Regions from separate parts of the Homo sapiens genome. Here regions 1, 2, 3, 4 and 5 are each linked to region 6. Evidence: promoter capture Hi-C in 16 types of primary human blood cells and fetal thymus (Javierre and others, 2016). All regions are on one chromosome and are shown on one strand. Each heading gives the region's core, a stretch centred on a gene start or on the middle of the fragment in contact. The rest is flanking DNA. Distances are from core to core; before and after follow the strand shown. Region 1 overlaps PICALM (phosphatidylinositol binding clathrin assembly protein). Region 2 overlaps PICALM (phosphatidylinositol binding clathrin assembly protein). Region 3 has its middle 4.6 kb from the start of TMEM126A. Region 4 overlaps PICALM (phosphatidylinositol binding clathrin assembly protein). Region 5 overlaps PICALM (phosphatidylinositol binding clathrin assembly protein). Region 6 holds the start of SYTL2 (synaptotagmin like 2).

What was found. The method cuts DNA at HindIII sites, captures the fragments that hold promoters and counts their contacts. A CHiCAGO score of 5 or more calls a contact.
Region 1: a fragment that was not itself captured here is called in contact with the fragment with the promoter of SYTL2 in region 6 in 3 of 17 cell types (naive CD4 T cells, total CD4 T cells and non-activated CD4 T cells); the score reaches 5.8 in naive CD4 T cells.
Region 2: a fragment that was not itself captured here is called in contact with the fragment with the promoter of SYTL2 in region 6 in 1 of 17 cell types (total CD8 T cells); the score reaches 5.2 in total CD8 T cells.
Region 3: a contact is called between a fragment that was not itself captured here and the fragment with the promoter of SYTL2 in region 6, in 6 of 17 cell types (naive CD8 T cells, naive CD4 T cells, total CD8 T cells and 3 more). The highest score is 10.3, in naive CD8 T cells.
Region 4: a fragment that was not itself captured here is called in contact with the fragment with the promoter of SYTL2 in region 6 in 5 of 17 cell types (naive CD4 T cells, naive CD8 T cells, total CD8 T cells and 2 more); the score reaches 7.7 in naive CD4 T cells.
Region 5: a fragment that was not itself captured here is called in contact with the fragment with the promoter of SYTL2 in region 6 in 1 of 17 cell types (activated CD4 T cells); the score reaches 5.1 in activated CD4 T cells.

The regions. Positions count from the first base shown.
Region 1 is chr11:85,996,643-85,999,949 of GRCh38, forward strand. It overlaps PICALM (phosphatidylinositol binding clathrin assembly protein), which reads right to left. Exons shown (of 20, transcript NM_007166.4): 12 at 184-287. Among named protein-coding and RNA genes, the nearest start is that of PICALM, 71 kb to the right of the region's middle. The HindIII fragment of the contact is 4,873 bases long and covers 1-3,307 here.
Region 2 is chr11:86,043,812-86,046,923 of GRCh38, forward strand. The region is part of intron 1 of PICALM (phosphatidylinositol binding clathrin assembly protein); the gene reads right to left. LOC124902730 (a long non-coding RNA gene) reads right to left here. Exons shown (of 2, transcript XR_007062822.1): 1 at 1-3,112. Among named protein-coding and RNA genes, the nearest start is that of PICALM, 24 kb to the right of the region's middle. The HindIII fragment of the contact is 2,478 bases long and covers 175-2,652 here.
Region 3 is chr11:85,641,947-85,644,877 of GRCh38, forward strand. No RefSeq gene overlaps it. Among named protein-coding and RNA genes, the nearest start is that of TMEM126A, 4.6 kb to the right of the region's middle. The HindIII fragment of the contact is 8,633 bases long and covers 1-2,931 here.
Region 4 is chr11:85,970,157-85,973,201 of GRCh38, forward strand. All of the region lies in intron 19 of PICALM (phosphatidylinositol binding clathrin assembly protein), which reads right to left. Among named protein-coding and RNA genes, the nearest start is that of PICALM, 97 kb to the right of the region's middle. The HindIII fragment of the contact is 1,411 bases long and covers 994-2,404 here.
Region 5 is chr11:86,022,805-86,025,717 of GRCh38, forward strand. All of the region lies in intron 3 of PICALM (phosphatidylinositol binding clathrin assembly protein), which reads right to left. Among named protein-coding and RNA genes, the nearest start is that of PICALM, 45 kb to the right of the region's middle. The HindIII fragment of the contact is 4,109 bases long and covers 1-2,913 here.
Region 6 is chr11:85,809,821-85,812,855 of GRCh38, forward strand. SYTL2 (synaptotagmin like 2) reads right to left here and starts at 1,321. Exons shown (of 20, transcript NM_206927.4): 1 at 1,134-1,321. RefSeq lists a silencer at 1,280-1,459. The HindIII fragment of the contact is 7,624 bases long and covers 1-3,035 here.

The DNA of each region.
Region 1 (3,307 bases), core at 712-3,211, 190 kb after region 6:
AAATTCCTAAATTATTTATAATAAATGAACATACCTTCAAGGGATAAAATTGCTTCATTGCCATTTTAATACTTATCAAGTTCTCATGTATCAAGTGTAATAAAAAACTACAAATAAGTAAACACCACAGAATGAGGAGGAGAGATGCATGTAACATCTAAAATAGAATTCATCAATGCTTACCTCCCCATGTACTTGCTACCTGAGAAGCAGTTGACATAGGATGTACAGATGGGTGAAAAGTTGGCTGCTGCAAATCAAGCAGATCATTGGGCAGCTTTGATGTGCTAGAAAGATATTTTGGAAACGTGTTTTATTTACCAGAAAAACTTTGCTACTTTAGTGTCACCTTCTCCACCCACCACAGATAAAAACATTAAAAACAAGGGAGAAAAGTCTCATTAATATAAATCTCAAAAGAGGAACAGTTTCTTCATATGACAGCATATTTCTAAGGAGGCTTGGAAAAATAATCTAATATCATATCTTAAGTTTATATAAGATTCAAAGAACAGTAGCTCTTCTGAAAAGGATGAATGTCTTCCCCTAGAAAAAACTAATTTCCCTATTAAAATGAACCTAAACAACAAGATTCTAAAATACAAAATATCACAGCAATTTTAATATTTTTAATAAAACTCTTTTCTTACTTTTAATATTCACAGAACTTGAATCACATTTGCAATACACTACACAGTAAAATACTCATTAACCTCACTTCTAGTGCCTCAGTGTCCAAACTATGTATCAATGATACAGGGAAAAAATTTTACATGCATTTATGAATAGAGCCACCCCATCACACAACACACTATTTACATGATATATTTCTTTCTTCTTTTTTTTGAGACAGAGTCTCGCTCTGTCGCCCAGGATGGAGTGCAGCGGCGTGATCTTGGCTCACTGTAACCTCTGCCTCCCAGGTTCAAATGATTCTCCTGCCTTAGCCTCCCAAGCAGCTGGGACTACAGGTGCGCAGCACCGCATCCGGCTAATTTTTGTATTTTTAATAGAGACAGGGTTTCACCATGTTGGCCAGCCTGGTCTCAAACTCTTGACCTCAGGTGATACGCCTGCCTCGGCCTCCCAGAGTGCTGGGATTACAGGCGTGAGCCACTGTGCTCAGCCTCTTTTTTTGTTGTTGTTTTGCTTTTTTTGAGACAAGAGTCTCACTCTGTTGTCCAGGCTGGAGTGCAGTGATGTGATCTTGGCTCAATGCAACCTCCACCTCCTGGGTTCCAGTGACTGGCATGCCTTAGCCTCCCAAGAAGCTGGGATTAAAGGTGCATGCCACCATGCTTGGCTAATTTTTGTCCTTTAGTAGAGACAGGGTTTCACCACACTGCCCAGGCTGGCCTCGAACTCCTGACCTCAGATGATCCACCCACCTGAGCCTCCCAAAGTGCTGGGATTACAGGCGGGAGGCACCATGCCTGGCTTACATGATATATTTCTACCTCAAGACTTCTATGTAATTTTTTTTATTTGAGACAGAGTCTCGCTCCGTCGCCCAGGCTGGAGTGCAGTGGAGCGATCCTGGCTCACTGCAAGCTCCGCCTCCCGGGTTCATGCCATTCTTCTACCTCAGCCTGCCAAGTAGCTGGGACTACAGGCGCCTGCCACCACGCCCGGCTAATTTTTTATATTTTTAGTAGAGATGGGCTTTCACCGTGTTAGCCAGGATGGTCTCGATCTCCTGACCTCATGATGCGCCCACCTCAGCCTCCCAAAATGCTGGGATTACAGGCATGAGCCACCATGCCCGGCCGACTTCTATGTGATTTTAATGAACAACTCAAAACATGACCCCAGAGTGTCTAAGAATTCAAACACAGTACAGATAATTTTTTTAAGAGAAGGGGTCTGGAGGCTGGGTGTAGTGGCTCATGCCTGTAATCCCAGCACTTTGGGAGGCTGAGGCGTGCGGACTGCTTGAGTTCAAAAGTTCAAGATCAGCTTGGGCAAAATGGCGAAAAAATACGAAAAATAGTTGGGCATTGCGGAGTGCGCCTGTAGTCCCAGCTACTCGGGAAGCTAAGGCAGAGGGAATGCTTGAGCCCAGGAGGTTGAGGCTGCAGTGAGCCATGGCTGTGCCACTGCACTCCAGCCTGGGTGACAGAGTAAGTCACTGTCTCAAAAGAGAGAGAGAGATTGAGAGAGAAACAGACAAACAGACCAAGAGATGTTGCCCAGGCTAGCTTGTACGGCTGGGCTCAGGCCTTCCTCCTGCCTCAACCTCCTGAGTAGCTGGGACAACAGGCACACGCCACCACACCCAGCTCCTAATTTTTAACTTATATATTCTCCAAAATAGAATGTTTTTCTTTTTAAATGGATATACAATAATTGTACATATTTATGGGATACATATGATATTGTGATACATGCATACCATGTAATTATCAGGACATCTATCACACCTCAAACATTCATCATTTCTCTGTGTTGAGAACATTCTAAATCTTCTAGCTACTTTGATATAGGTAATACAATTGTTTTTAATTAGTAATTCTACTGTGCTATCAAACACTAGAACTTATTCCTTCTAACTGTATTTTTATAAAAAAGTTTTGAAGACATGTCTTTTAGATGTACAATAGTTGTGTAGATAGTAGATATAAACGCATTTAGTGCTTTGGGGAACATATAGAATATACAATAATAATTCTGTAAATGGGCTGTAAGATTTGCCCTTAATTACTATTAAAAAGGTGAAAATTTTTAGTATGTGACATAAAACATAGTGAAATTAGTTCTTTATCCAATAATTTGTTTCAGCCTCGAACAATGAACATTCTTTTCACTTCTTTCTCCTAGGACAGACTTCTTTTCAAGATCTCCATGTTGAGAACTTGCCCCTTAATGGGGTCAATGTTACTTAACTGGGGATTAAAGAAGGTAGCATACATGAGCAAACAAATCATAAAGCTGAAAGAAAAAAAAGAACTAAATTCAACAAACACCTACTAAGATTTCAGGGAGCAGGTAGCAACTGAGCATGCATACAGCAAGCAGTTCACGTAGTAAAACTTACACTGAGCTATTAGGCTCAGCTATTAGGAGTCAGTAGGCAGGCAGATGAGCTTTTAAGGGTGAGTTAATAAACAGCAACAACAAAGTGAAAGGAAAAAACTCACCACTCTCTATGGAACATTTAACATGTGCTAATAATGCACTGTGCTAAAACCTAGTCACCTGGGAGCATCTTAAAAACAAAAATTCTTGGGCCCCAGGCCCCACCTACTGAATCAAAACTCTAGGATTGGGACTCAGATATCTGTAGTTTAATAAACTCTCCAAATGCTTC
Region 2 (3,112 bases), core at 164-2,663, 230 kb after region 6:
CAGAAGATTTTTCATCTCTTCTCTTAAAAATTTTTAAATTCTGCCCAGTCACAGGGAATAATGGATTGCAGTTAGACTCTCTGCCAGAGGCTCCCTCACTCAGAAAACACAAGTTCCGTTCCATGTCCCCAATGCACACAGAACAACGAGAATCTTTATATTCCACTTTCATGAAGCTTTGCAAACCTCAGTAAGAACAAACAGAAATCCCATTTATTCTAGTATTAACTGCATACTATAATACGCCAATAGTGTCTTAGGAGTTAGAAATATACAATAGTGGACAAAGTTTCTATTATCACGGAGCTTATATACTAATGGGAGGAATGTAATCAGTAAACAAATGAACAAATAGATGGTGGCAAGTGCTAAAAATTTCTTAGCTCTTGGAAGGGATGGAGCTATGTGTTTGAGGGAGGTTGCTAGGAAGGAGCCCCACATAAAATGACTTTTAAGAATTATGGCAACAGTGGTAGTGTGTCACCAGTGGCCTGGAGGCCTATGGAACTGACCATCATGATCAACTACCACCTTCCACATAGTGAGTAAGTGTGAAGGCCTCCCATTCATTCTATATCTCACATGTCTGCTCCACCTGTGCCAAACCAAAGACACATCAAACGGGATCGTCTCTTGGTAATTTTGCAAAGCCTCTAGTTTTACGTATATAGTACCAGACGGTGGAAATCTCATTTATTTATTCACATGCTTCACAATTAAAACAATCTGATCACTTTAAGTGACTCAAAATTACACGAGCCATTTATTACACGATTAAGTGACGTAACTGTAGCTAGTAAGCATGTGAAGACCCTGTAAGCCAGGGGTTCCCAACCCCCAGGCCGTGGACCATTACTGGCTCATGACCTGTTAGGAACTGGGCCACACAGTAGCTGGTGAGCTAGGAAGCATTACTGCCTGAGCTCTGCCTCCTATCAGATCAGCAGGGGCATTAGATTCTCATAGGAGCGCGACCCCTATTGTGAACTGCACATGCAAGGGATCTAGGCTGTGCACTCCTTATGAGAATCTAATGCCTATGATCGAGGTGGAACAGTTTCATCCCGAAACCATCCCTCCACACACCCCCTGCCAGTCTGTGGAAAAACTGTCTTCCATGAAACCACTCCTTGGTGCCAAAAAGGTTGGGGACCGTTGCTGTAAGCCACTGAGTAACAAGTGAAAGCCATTTCTGAAAAATCATTTTTCAAACTGCTGGAAACCAACTGCAGTAATGGCGGATGTAGCACCAAATAATAACCTATCTACATGGCTTTAAATTTTGAAATAATACTCTCTAAGTGGAAAATATGAGCAATTTTAATACATTATTAATATATCACTATAAAATAAAGCCATTAATAAATCACTACAAAATAAAGCCAGAGTTATTTTTCCTAATAAGTTTAATATTACGCCTTTAAGTTTCTACAAGAAGGAAAAATCACCAGGATTATTCTACAAGAAGAAATAATCACCAGGACAAAAAATATCTCTATCCTCATACACCTCATAACCATACACCTGTTCTTATAAGATTCCTAGAAGGGTACAGTGGTATGCACCTGTAGTCCCAGCCACTCAGGAGGTTGAGGTGGGTGGATCACTTCAGCCCAAGAGTTTGAGGCTGTAGTATGCAATGATGACAACTGTGAATAGCCACTGAACTCCAGCCTAGGCAACATAGTGAGACCCTGTCTTGAAATTCAAAAAAAAAAAAAAAAAAAAAAAAAAGACTCCATATAACCCACATTCACCTATTTCCTATTTCTCAGCACTAAAAAGTCTGACAATTTTACTTCCTGACAAATGTCTTTCTTAAAAGGAATTATAAAATTTTATATAGATCTATATTTATACAATATCCCATTTATTTTCAAAACCACATTCTATCTATGAATGGATATATGAAGAGTCTCCTAAATTTCTTAAAGAGTGTATCTTTATCCTGGCTTGTGTGAGAAAGTAATATACATTTTAAGTGGTCTAGACAAGTAGGAAGGGAAATTTAATCATCTTTCTCCCATCATTCTACAGTACCAATCTTTCACCAACTTTTTTTTGCTATGATGCCAAACGATCTTCAAATAAACCTTCTACCCAACCACAGCTTTTCAAGTTAATCTCTTCCTAAACTTGACAAACACTGGAGAATGTTAACTAGTTTTTACTTTCATTGCTACATTAGATACTCTCCAGAGTGACTGGGATTGGCAGGTATCTTGTTTTTAACTCTTTCTACAAGATATTTCATTAAAGTTAATTTCTCCCATTAAAAATCTTCTGGCTCACATTTATTTGATAGTCTGTCCTAAGAGCTATTCATTTTCAATATCTGCTTCAAATACTGATAATGAAGATTTTAATTTGCCATCACTGAAGTTCTGCTCTAGACTCTCTGGCTTCCATGCATGGTCCCATCCATTTCCATGTGCTACAACTGTACTATAACAAGACTAACCAACACATCAGAATGAGCAAAAAAAATCTAGAATCAAATTCGAGATTCATGATTCACCATTGTGATTTCAGGCATGTTAATTAGTCACTCAGTTTCCATTTCAACATTTAAAAAATAGGACTAATACTTAATTTTCACAACATCTTGGCTTAGTAAGGTGATATATTTAGGGTATTTTAAAAGTACCCTAAAGCTTTAAAGCATCATTACAAATATTTTCATTTCTTTCTTACCATCATTTTGTATTGATGTTTTCCCTCATTTTAGGAGACAACTCCTCTATCACCTTTCCAATACACTGTCATGAAAATAGCTCAAACTCAATTACTGCTGCAAAACCTTCATTATCTAATGCCCAATTTCTTCATCAACTGGGAAGTGTTACCATAGATCCTTGCACTCAATCTTAAGAGTGGCAAAATCTTTATAATGCACATATGATTTCTTTCTTTCTTAATAAAGACAGGGTCTTACTCTGTCACCCAGACTGGAGTAGCTGGGACTACAGGTACATGCCAGCACATGCAGCCAATTTTTAAATTTTCTGTAGATACAAGGTCTCACTATGTTGCCCAGGCTGGTCTCAAACTCCTGGCCTTAAGTGATCCTCCCACTTTGGCCTCCCAAAGTGTTGGGATTACAGGCATGAGC
Region 3 (2,931 bases), core at 375-2,874, 170 kb before region 6:
CGTATTAATAAAACAAGTTGGTAGAAATTCAGAAAGGATAATGACCATTAGCCAACTTGTGCTAATTGATGTTTTTACAATTCTTGGCACAACAGCAGAGTATACGTTCTTTACAAGCACACATGGACCACTTACCAAGATGGACCAGTATCTACTTTATAAATCTCAATAAACTTAAAAGGATTCAAATCATACAAAGTATATTTTCTGACCAGAATGGAACTGAATTGGAAATCAATAGCAAAATGGTATCTAGAAAATTGGAACTATTACTAAATTAACACACTTCTAAATAATCCACAGGCCAAAGAGGAAAGCAAAGTGAAATTAGAAATTCTTTTGAACTGAATTAAAATAATACAGAACATTTAAAAATCTATGGATACAGTTAAAGCAGCACTTGGAAATTTGTAATGATAAGCACATATGTTAGAGGGGAAAAAGATCTCAAATCAATTACCTCAGGTATGTTTTTAAGAAACGAGAAAAAGAGGAGCAACTTAAATCCTAGATAAGAATAAGAAAGAAACAATATAGAACAGAGGGGGGAAGAAATAGAAAACAGAAACCAATAGAAAAGAACCAATAAAACCAAAAGGTGGTTATTTGAGATTTTCAAAAATAATAAACAATTAGCATAAAGAAGGGAAGACATAAGTGACCAATATCAAGAGAGATGTTTCACCACAGATTCTACAGATGTTAAAATATAACAAGAAAATATTTTTGAACAATTTCAGCCAATAAACTTGAGAACTTAGGTGAAATGAATAAATGAATATTTGATCTTGTTTTGTGAAGATTTGTGAAGTTCACTCAAAAAGAAATAGATAATCAGGGTAGCCATATATCTACCATGAGTATTGAATTTATAGTTAAATCCTCCCTACAAGGAAAACTCAGATCCAGAAATCTTCACTGGTAAAGTCTACCAAACATGTAAGGAAGAAATAATAATATGATGCAAACTCTCCAAAAAAATTGAAGAGATGGGAACACTTGCCAACTCATTCAATAAGTCCAGCAATATCCTGATATCAAAGCCAGATAAAAACATTTTGAGGAAAGAAACTACAGCCTAATACTCCTCATGAACATTGATATAAAAACTTTTGACAAACTTTTAGCAAACCAAATACAAAAATATATATAAAGAATAGTACCTCATGGCCAAGCGGGGCTTATTCCAGGATTGCAAAATTGACTTAACATTTAAAAAAATCACTCAATGTTTTGTTCCACCAAACCCACAGCAGGAGTCACCCCAAAAGTGACAGCAGGGGAGTTTCCACAAGGGAGTGTCCAGAGTTATCCTGAGACTGGGCTGGTTGGGATTCAAAGAAAGAAGCACTAAACACCAGGGTCATCAGTCCAAAGCATTTATTAGGGGAAATTTTATATGACTGAACTGCAGCAATCCTCACCACAAACAGCAAGAGAAAAGGCTAGCAGTTCACAACAAGGGGATTAGGATATGGAGTTTATATGAGGGCTTAGGAATTTGGCTCAGGGCCAGGGCCAGTTTATTTTAGTGTTTTGGGCAACAACCTAGATACCTTTATCAGTGCCTGGAAATGTTTCAGGTCTCGGTTTGGATTCAAGCCTGCTAAGAAAAATCTGCAGCTGGCCAGGTCACAAAGCAGTCAAGGCGCTCTGTGATTTTTGGTCAGGACACGGAAAGATGGCTGGGGAACGTGGAGCCCCTACACAATATAATTCACTGTATCAACAGACTAAACAAGGAAAAAAAACAATCATCTGAATAGATACAGAAAAAGCATTTGACAAAATCCAACATCTGTTCCTGATAAAAACTCCCAGCATGAGGAAAAGAAGGGAACTTCCTTAAGATTTTGAAGAGCATTTACCAAAAAACCTATAATTAACATGATGATGGTGGGAAACTGAATGACTTCCCCCTAAGATCAGGGAAAATGCAAGAATGTCTGCTTTATTGCTTCTAGCCAACATTGTATGGGAGAGTCTAGCCAGATTGGAAAAGAAGAAATAAAATTATCTATGTAATTTTTAAAATCCTATTTGATTTAGCAAGGTTGTAGGTTATAAAATGTAAAAGAAAAAATAAATTGTAACTCTCCAGATAAGCAATTAACAATAAGACCAAGCAATTTGTCCATTTTGTCTAAATTGTCGAACACAGTGGGTTAAAGTTGTTCATAATATCCTCTCCTTATCCTGTTAATGTGTGTAGAATCTGTATTAATGTCCCTTCTTTCAGTCCAAAAAGATTTAGTTGTTTGGTCTCTTTTTCTTTTGATTAGTCTTATTAGGGCTTATTGATTTTATTAATATTTTCAAAGAATCACAGTTGGTCTTTTCTCTATTGTTTTTGTCTTTTCCCTTTCATTTATTTCCACTCTTACCTTTATTATTCCTTCCTCTTTGATTTCCTTTTTGCTTAATTTGATTTTTTTAAAAAAATATTGATTTGGTTGATTTTGCCCTTGATTCTAGGGCATAACCCTTAGTCATTGGATGTAGTCATTAATTCTAAGATGCTGCTCAGTGGAATGTCCAAAGTTTTCACCCGGTCTGTATAACTTGGAAATATTTAAATTTCCGATATTTGAATTTAAATATTCAAAAATACACTGTCTTCCCAGCATCAGATGACTGCTGAAATTTCACTTTATCTCTTCCAGTCTTCCAACTGTTGCTGTCCATTGGGTTCTTTGGGTCTTACCACATGCATGTACTGTTATAATGTCAGCCAAAAATTTGAGGGGATTTTTTAGACAGATTTTGGGGTTCCCTTTTCAAGGTTCCTGCCCCAATTTTCAGTTGATCTGGCATTTCCAAATTTCAACTTCTGAGTGTTTTAGAATGGGAAGAATGCTGCTTTATACTGACACTCGATATTCCCCATGTACTGCACAGACTAATGCCCTCATGAAAAAAAGCTGGATAAAT
Region 4 (3,045 bases), core at 449-2,948, 160 kb after region 6:
CTTATAATCTAGTAAAGAAAGCCCTTGCTAGACTGGATGGATGCCAGGTAGTCACAAGGTCTGTAAGAAAAAATAATGCAGAATAAGGAAAAGAATTCCAGATCTCATAAGGATGTGAAAGGGACACCAGATGACTGAAGACTGGACAAAGAATAAACCCACTTTATGGCAGGTGAAGGACTTATGGAAAAGACAAATAACAGCAGAACACTGGATACTTATTGAGAATTGTAAAAGCATGGAATCGAAGAACTTGAATATTCCGTTAACTCATTATTACTCTTATAAATAGGGAGGCTTCATGAGGTTGTTTTAAGATGGAAGGAAAGCTGAGAAAAGGCTTTAAATGTTCAGTTATATTTAGATTCACCTCCTTAGGCTGGACACAGTGGCTCACACCTGTAATCCCAACACTTTGGGAGGCCCAGGAGGGAGGATCACTTGAGGCCAGGAGTTTGAGACCAGCCTGGCCAACATGGTGAAACCCTGTCTCTACTAAAAATTAGTTGGGTGTGGTGGCGTGTGCCTGTAATCCCAGCTGCCGGGGAGGCTGAGGCAGGAGGTTTAACACAGGAGGCAGAGGCTGCAGTGAGCTGAAATCGTACCACTGCCCTCCAGCCTGGGGGACAGAGTGAGACTCCATTACCCACACACAAAAAAGATTCACCTCCCTAAATGTTTGAGTATGGAGATGGGTATTACAAATACTGCCTACAAAAGATTGTTCCAATATTTACAAAACGGATTAAATCGGGGAGGCAGAGAACATGAGTGACTATTGCAAAACAAGTGTGAATAAAGAGGTTCCAAGACTGGGTGAAAGCTGTAGAATGCAAGGAGAAGGGTGGGTCTAATTATAGCAGAGGAATAATTAGTGAGACTTTGTGATTAGATACATGCAGAACAAAGGAATTACAAAATAATTAAAAGTAACATTAACAAATTTAAGATTCTGACTTTCAAATGATTCAAATGACTATGTAGAGAGACCAAAGCTTCTTCAAGCCATTTCATTGCTGCCTGATTTTATTTTCCTAGTTATCAATTTGCTTCCTTCATTTGCTTTTTCAGTAATACTTAAGTACTCATTTCAAATTTTATCTTTCAACTAGAAACTTATTACCCTAATGTTCTCATTCACTTCTCTTCTGATATAAAGTAATTAAGAAAAGGTATTTCTGTCCCTGTTTTTTTTCATGCACAAGGAAATTCTGGCACTTTTCTGGTGTTTCTGTGAAACGGTTATGTGGGTTTTAGAAGGCAACAGGACGTAAAACCTGGGTTAAGAGCAGATGCTGGGTGGGTACGGTGGCTCATACCTGTAATCCCAGCACTTTGGGAGGCCGAGGCAGATGAACTGCTAGAGCTCAGGAGTTCAAGAACAGCCTGGGCAACATGGCAAAACTCCATCTCTAAAAAAAATACAAAAATTAGCCAGGCATGGTGGCATACACCAGTAATCTCAGCTACTCAGGAGGCCAAGGCGGGAGGATGGCTTGAACATGGGAGATGGAGGTTGCAGTGAGCCGAGATCGCACCACTGTACTCGAGTCTGGGTGACAGAGCAAGACCCTGTCTCAAAAAAAAAAAACAAAACAAAAACAGAGCAGATGCTGGATGACAAGCAATTTTTTGTTTGTTTTGAGATGGAGTTTAGCTCTTGTCGCCCAGCCTGGAGTGCAATGGCCCAATCCAGGCTCACTGCAACCTCTGCCTCCCTGGTTCAAGCAATTCCCCCACCTCAGCCTCCCAAGTAGCTGGGATTCCAGACATGCACCACCAAGCCCAGCAATTTTTTGTATTTTTAGTAGAGACAGGGTTTCACCATGTTGGCCAGGCTGGTCTTGAACTCCCGACCTCAGGTGATCTACTCACCTTGGCTTCCCAAAGTGCTGGGACTACAGGCGTGAGCCACCGTGCCTGGCCAACAAGAAATTTTTTAAAGGTAGATTTTTGCCAACATTAAAAAAAAATGTTTAGGTTTTTAAAAAGCAAAACTCATACACAATGTTTCAAGGTTGAAGGTTATTACCCAAAACTGTAGAGAATATTCTTTACAACTATAGTAGTTACATCCTGAATGTGTAAATGTGGTTTACAATTTAGCAGAAAAACCTAAGGAGTGTGCAGACTGTTCACTGCTGACGAAAGAAGATGGTGCTACCGTATTGGCCAGTAAGGGCTCAGTACCACTAGCAGAGAGACTGTGGTATAAATGAGCACTGGACTAGGAATCAGACACACCTGGGGATAAGTTGATTTCACCATTTAATTAGTTGAAGAACCCTTCCAAGTCTGTCTTCTTTACCTATGAAATGTGACGGTGAGAGCAGACCCATCTACCTTAAAGAATCGGCTAACACAATGTATGTGAAAGTAATTGGAAATTGTCTGGTAGTATCCAAGCTTAAGGTAGCAATATATTCTGACAACAGCCTGCAAATCAAGATGCAGAGTGGGTGAAGGGTTTAACTACATATCAGGAAAAACACTTCTGTAGTCGAAGGTCCCTAATAAGTTTTTAGCATGGACTATAGCTTTAAAAAAAATTACTTAAATACATTTAGGTTTCTATCACTTAGTCTCTTGTACCAAAATAATAATAATAATTTTTAAAGTAAATGATACATATCTGAAGTTAAATGTACAAATAACAAAATAAAAAACAAAAGGACATGAAAAAGACATTAACTGTGTATCAAGAAAACATCTACAACAGATAGGGAAATCATCCATATACTTCTTAAAAGATTATCAAGTTAAACCAGTAATGAGATTACTGCTGGTAAAAGTTCAATAACAATTACTATAAATACTGTAAACACTCATAGTCTATTTTATAAAAACAAATGCACAAAAAGTGACTGACTTATAAAAGTAATGACTGTGTCAATTACCCTCACTCCAAGTTATTTTCAATTTTCACTGTAAATACTTAACTGATTAAAGAACAAGGAGGAAGTCATTTTAACATGGACAAAGGGTGGGGTAAAAAAAGAGGCATGTTGGTAAATGTATTAATTGCAACCAACATGAATTTTACCC
Region 5 (2,913 bases), core at 355-2,854, 210 kb after region 6:
CAAATTTAACATCCTATGGAACCACAATCCCATTCCTCAAATCAAGCAACTTTATATAATTTTTATACTCCTAAAATCTTTAGCTGTATTTAGAACCATAACTTGTATGTGCCAACCTTATAAAAAGTATAAAAAATTACTGTGTAATATAAGAAATGGCAACATGCAAGTTCAGGGTGTAACAAAAACAATTATATGAATGTTTTCAATGAAACTTTCTAAATGAATACATAAATCATTCTAAGATTTTGTTTCATCATGACCTTGACTTGAAAACTTTAGCAACATAAAATCTAATCAATATTATTTTCTAAAAACACCAAAAACTTTGTGTTTTAGTTATTACCTGGCTCAAGGAAGTCTATAAATTTTTGCTCCTCATTGAAAAGTGAACCCATTTTATCTCATATTCATCTAACAAATTTAATTACTTGGTCTTTGCTACCTTTAAAAGACAATACCAAAACCAACCAAAATGTAAACTAACTGGATTTCAACATCACCAGTTCATTTATTTAGCAAAATATTTATTGAGTGCCTATTAAGTACCAGTGGAGAAAAATCAGTGAACAAAATAGAAAAAAAAATACTGCTCCCATATGACTTCATACCTACTACTGTACACGTCAGGTGTTACATGCTCACATTCCTCAGCTCTTCGGTTCATATGGTTCTATCTACTATACCCCATCCTAAGACGGTAAACACCTCTCATCCTTCAAGGCTCAACCTCTCGTCTACATAAAAAGAGTGAAATTATTAACACCTTACCACTAGAATTGCTTAATTTCCATCTTAAGAAAATGATAAATCAGTCGCTAATAAGACACAAAAAACCTACTTGGATATATGCATAAACTCTGCCTAGAGCACTGCTCTGCATCTTGTTTTCCATAGACTTTTAAAGTTAAAATGAACTGAATGAGGGAGGAAGTGAAAATTAAAGGATGAGTAGGCAGTTTCTTCCATGCCCCTGAAAATAGAGACACTCCATTTTTATCTATAATATATATCTGGCTTCTGTTTAAGATTTCAAAAAGAGGCCAGGTGTGGTGGCTCATGCCTGTAATCCCAGCACTTTGGGAGGCTTAGGAGGATCGCTTTAGACCAAGAGTTCAAGACCAACCTGGTCAACAGAGCAAGAGCCCATCTCTACAAAATATTTAAGAATAAAAATATTAGCCAGGCGTGGTGGTGCACATCTGTAATCCCAGCTGCTCAGGAGGCTGAAGGGAGGACCGCTTGAGCCAGGAGTTAGAGGCTGCAGTGAGCTACGATCATACCACTGCACCCAGCCTAGGTGACAGAGCAAGCCCCGGTCTCTCTTACTCCAGCCTCAGCAACAGAACCAGATCCTGTCTCAAAGAAAAAAAAAATTTTTTTTTCAAGAGAGGGGGTCTACTGTTTTAATTTTTTTTCCTTAAGTTAGAGCGCCGTAACTCTTGTTAAAATATAATGCATTTTGTAACAATGGGTCCTACATATAGATTACTGGTCTTCTAGAATGTCTGGAAGATAGGGTATTAAATTCTTTTTAAGCAATACCTGCACTTACCAAAGGGAAACAAGTATTGGACTGAACACCTCCAAACTCAAATACAGCCAGTCACATTAAAAAAAAAAAAAAATTCCCCTGATCTTTTTTTTTTTTTACACCTCCAGAAGAACCACAGTTCAGGCCCTGATTAACTCTACACTAGATAACCAGAACAACTGAAACAGTCTCAGCATCTTCAAGATTTGGTTTACTCTGATCTAACTTGACTAAGCTATGATGCTTTCCTGGTAACACATAATTCCCTCTCCCCTCCTCTCTCTACTGCATTATAAAATTCCAACTCTATAAAAAATTTTTGTGCTTGATTTTGGCTCTGAACAGCTTCTTGAGGGCTATCTGCCACTACATGTTCTCAAATACACCATTCATATATATTCTATTCACATTCATTTGCTCTGTAAATCTTAAATACTCATATCCATGTGAATGACTTTCACATCCATATACATCTGTGTATCTGTCCTTACTTTCACATTCATGTATTGTACCTGTGCTTAAGCCAACTCATCTTCTCATCCTTCTCTTGAAGCCCAGCACAAATCTCACCTTCTCTAAAGACATTTCCCTGATTGAGCCTCACTGTTGAATATTCCCAATTCATTTGGCATATCCTTTATGAGGTTCTCCCTAAAGCTAACATTCTATAATGCTAACAGCCTAGTTACAGAACTAAGTAAAACAGATCCCATTAAGACAATGTGCATGGACAGCTATAACCACATTATGTCCATTTCAAGTTACTAAATAAAAAATAGCAGGCCGGGTGTGGTGGCTCACGCCTGTAATCCCAGCACTTTGGGAGGCCGAGGCAAGCAGATCATGAGGTCAAGAGATGCAGACCATCCTGGCCAACATGGTGAAACCCCATCTCTACTAAAGATACACAAAGTAGCTGGGCGTGGTGACATGCGCGGGTAGTCCCAGCTACTCGGGAGGCTGAGGCAGGAGAATCGCTTGAACCCGGGAGGCGGAGGTTGCAGTGAGCCAAGATCATGCCACTGCACTCCAGCCTGGTGACAGAACGAGACTTCGTCTCAAAAAAACATAAATAAGAAAATAGCTACGAATATGAAGGAACAATTCATCTCAACAAATTATATCCACTTTAGCTACTAAAACATGTAATATTTCAACTACATTTCTTGGAATGAAACATAATATAATAACAATGAAAGCAAATATTACATAGCATTTCTTTTTTTGTTTGTTTTTTTGAGACAGAGTCTAGCTTTGTCACCCAGGCTGGAGTGCAGTGGCATGATCTTGGCTCACTGCAACCTTCGCCTCCTGGGTTCAAGCGATTCTCCTGCCTCAGCCTCCTGAGTAGCTGGGATTACAGGTGTGCACCACCAATC
Region 6 (3,035 bases), core at 71-2,570:
CTGATTTCACCTGGATACCACACTAAGGGTGAGAAGGGGCAGAACTTCAGGGGTGGAGGAAAGTGAGGGAAGGGAAATGCTGGAGACCTTCCATAGAAATCCAGCCAAGTCCTCAGCTCCTTTCAATCATCCTACTCTATCTGGCTGCTCCATCCAGCAGACAGCAGGGGTCACCATCCTGGTGGGGAATGGCTGCCAACAAGGGGACGGGAAGCTGGATGGCAGTTTGCATCCACCCCACCTTCCAGGGTCTATCTGTCTGAAGCCCCACCGGGCTTCCTCTGCACATCCCTGCCGGGCTGTGTGGCTCAGGGGGCTGACAGGGTGATTCATAGCCTGTTCTTATCTAGGCTTCTATCTCAACCCTGCGCCCAAAGCCCTGGAGGCTGCTGGTCACAAACCAGCACTAAATGAAAAGAAGAACTTTTCATTAAGGCAGGAAGTGGAGCCCCTCAAGGTCAAAGGGGATTTATAAAGAGAGGAGGAAAGAAAGGGAAGACGCGGCAGGATGGGTGCAGAGAAAGAGAGACCCACTTCCTATATGCTGGTGGAGCCCTGTGTCTTAGACGCTAAAAACAGTCGCTTTTCCACTTCAAAGGATGATAAAGCCCACTCGTGTAGTTTATAGCTCGCCGTGGGACGAGGTGTGGGTATGGAAGAGAATTCCAAAACACGTCTTATTTTCAAAGGAGAAATCATCATCCCCTGGCCGGCCCTTCCCAACACCCCACCTGTAAACAGGTGCTGACGCTCCTACCTTTCTGCACCTGAGCAATCTGGGGGCAGTTACTCTGCAGCCAGGTCTCCCCAGCACCCAGCCCCAAGCCCAGGTCAGTCCCTGAAAGCCCTAGAAAACGCGATAGCTCAGCAGAACCCTCGCCTACCCGGGCATCCCAGCTTCCTGGCCGCCTGGGCAGCGGAGGTGGCTCTGGAGTAGGTGGGAAACTGAGGAAAGGAGCTTTCCCCGTGCCAAAACGCAGTTCCCATTTTAGAACTGGTTAGACTAAGGAACAACATTCTACACCACCTCCCTCACTTAACAGAGGAGGAAGCAGAGACCAAGAGAGGGAAACAAAGTTGCCCGAGGTAACACAGCGAGTGGGCCAAGTAGAGACTGGAACCCGAGTGCGCACCTCCGAGTCGCTGCCGGGCAGGGAGCGCGCCTCGCCGTCTCTCTTGTCTTCTGGCCCCCAGCCCTCGGCCTGGCGGTGCAAACCGCGCAGCCCCGGGCGCGGCGCGTTACCTTCCCCCGGGCAAGGCGTTGCGAGCCTTCACTCTCCCGACGGACGCTGGCGGCACGGCCCGGGTGTCGCCCGGCACTGTCAACGCAGAGCGGCGTGCGCGAGTCCCTCCCCGCTACCCCCGCCCCCGGCGGGCGGTGCGGTGGGGCCGGTCCCGGGTGCTCGGGCCAATGGCGCTTCGCCCGCTCCCCGCCCCGGCCCGCCCCGGCCTCCTCGCCCGGCACACAGCGCCTGCCAGCCCCTGCCCTCTCCCCTTCCCTCCCTTCGCCCTCCGCCCCCGCCTGCTGCTTCTCTCCGGTTCCTAGCCTCCTTCTCAAGTGTACCTTGCCCCGAAACAACCTGTTTTCTGTGCAAATAAAGCAGCACTGTTGTTATTGTTATTATTATTTTTATCACGGCGCGTTAGGGGGCCTTGGAGCCCGAGAGTGTGGAGCACTAGGAGCCTCTGCACTCCGAGAAGGGACAGCCACCGCGCAGGGAAAGGGGCGCGGAGGGTATGGAGCCCGGTCATGGGGTAACTTGCTTTAACCCTCGGGACGTCAATTTCCTCACATGTGAAATAGAAGAAGGGGGGAAAAAAGTTGTTGAGAGGACTAAATGAAGTGATGCTTTAAAATACAATAATACCTAGAGAAAGGTGAGGGCGTCATGCACTGCCTGAGCTACTTACTGGGGTATGCACAGAGGACTGGTAAGCTCCTGGAAGACGCTGTGTGGCAGGGAGGCAGACAATGCAATACAGTAAATACAATATTGTGGTCGGGCGCGGTGGCTCACACCTGTAATCCCAGCATTATGGGAGGCCGAGGCAGGTGGATAACCCGAGGTCAGGAGTTCGGGACCAGCCCGGCCAACATAGCAAAACTCTGTTCTAATTAGAAAAGAAAAAAGAAAAATTAGCTGGGTGTGGTGGCGAGCGCCCGTAGTCCCAACTACTTAGGAAGCTGAGGCAGGAGAATCGCTTTAACCCGAGAGGTGGAGGCTGCCGTGAGCCAAGATCGCACCACTGCACCCCATCCTGGGTGACAGAGCAAGACTCTGTCTCAAAAAAATAAATAAAATAATTTAAAAATTGTATCACGACCTATTTTTTACAAGTTACCCATGATGGGGCCAGCCCAGGCAAACCTCTGAAGGAGATGAACCTTAAAGCCTTTTTCCTTATCATTTCCTGGACTAGTGTTGTCCATTTAACTGAGGGTGGCCCAGGTCTGCCTTTGGTTCTTCCAAAGGTCTTCCTTCTCCCAAACTTACAAATACTTATCCCCAAGGGCTTCAGTTAGTGCCCAGTGCAGGCTGCTAGCCTGGCCCAAGAGTCCTGGCACTGTGCAGAGATGTGTATTCTGGCTTCCTTCAGCCTTTGAGAGCCTGGTGTGTCCCTGTGCTGGGTGAGCATGCCACATGCAAAAGAGGAATAAGCCACTGGTCTTGCCTTTGAAGAAACAAATTTGTAAATAATTTCATTTTAGGGTAAGTGTTATAATAGGTTGACAAAGTGTTGTAGAGTCACTACGCTGAAGGAGGGGGACAATAAAAAATACAAATGTGACCAAGGTAGGTCTTGAAGGAGGGCTACAAATTAGGTCAGATTGAAGGGGTGACAGAAGACTGGGCACAGAGAGGCAGGCAGAGACATGGAGATGCCTGTCATATGTCACGGCTATTGCACAGGATTTGGGACAATGAGGCAGAGATGAAGCTAAGGAGGTAGGTGGGCAGATGTTGGAGGAGTGGCTGTACCTGCCTTGCTGAGGGAAGCAGGCTGTGTCCTGTTGGTGATGGCTGTTGGCGAAT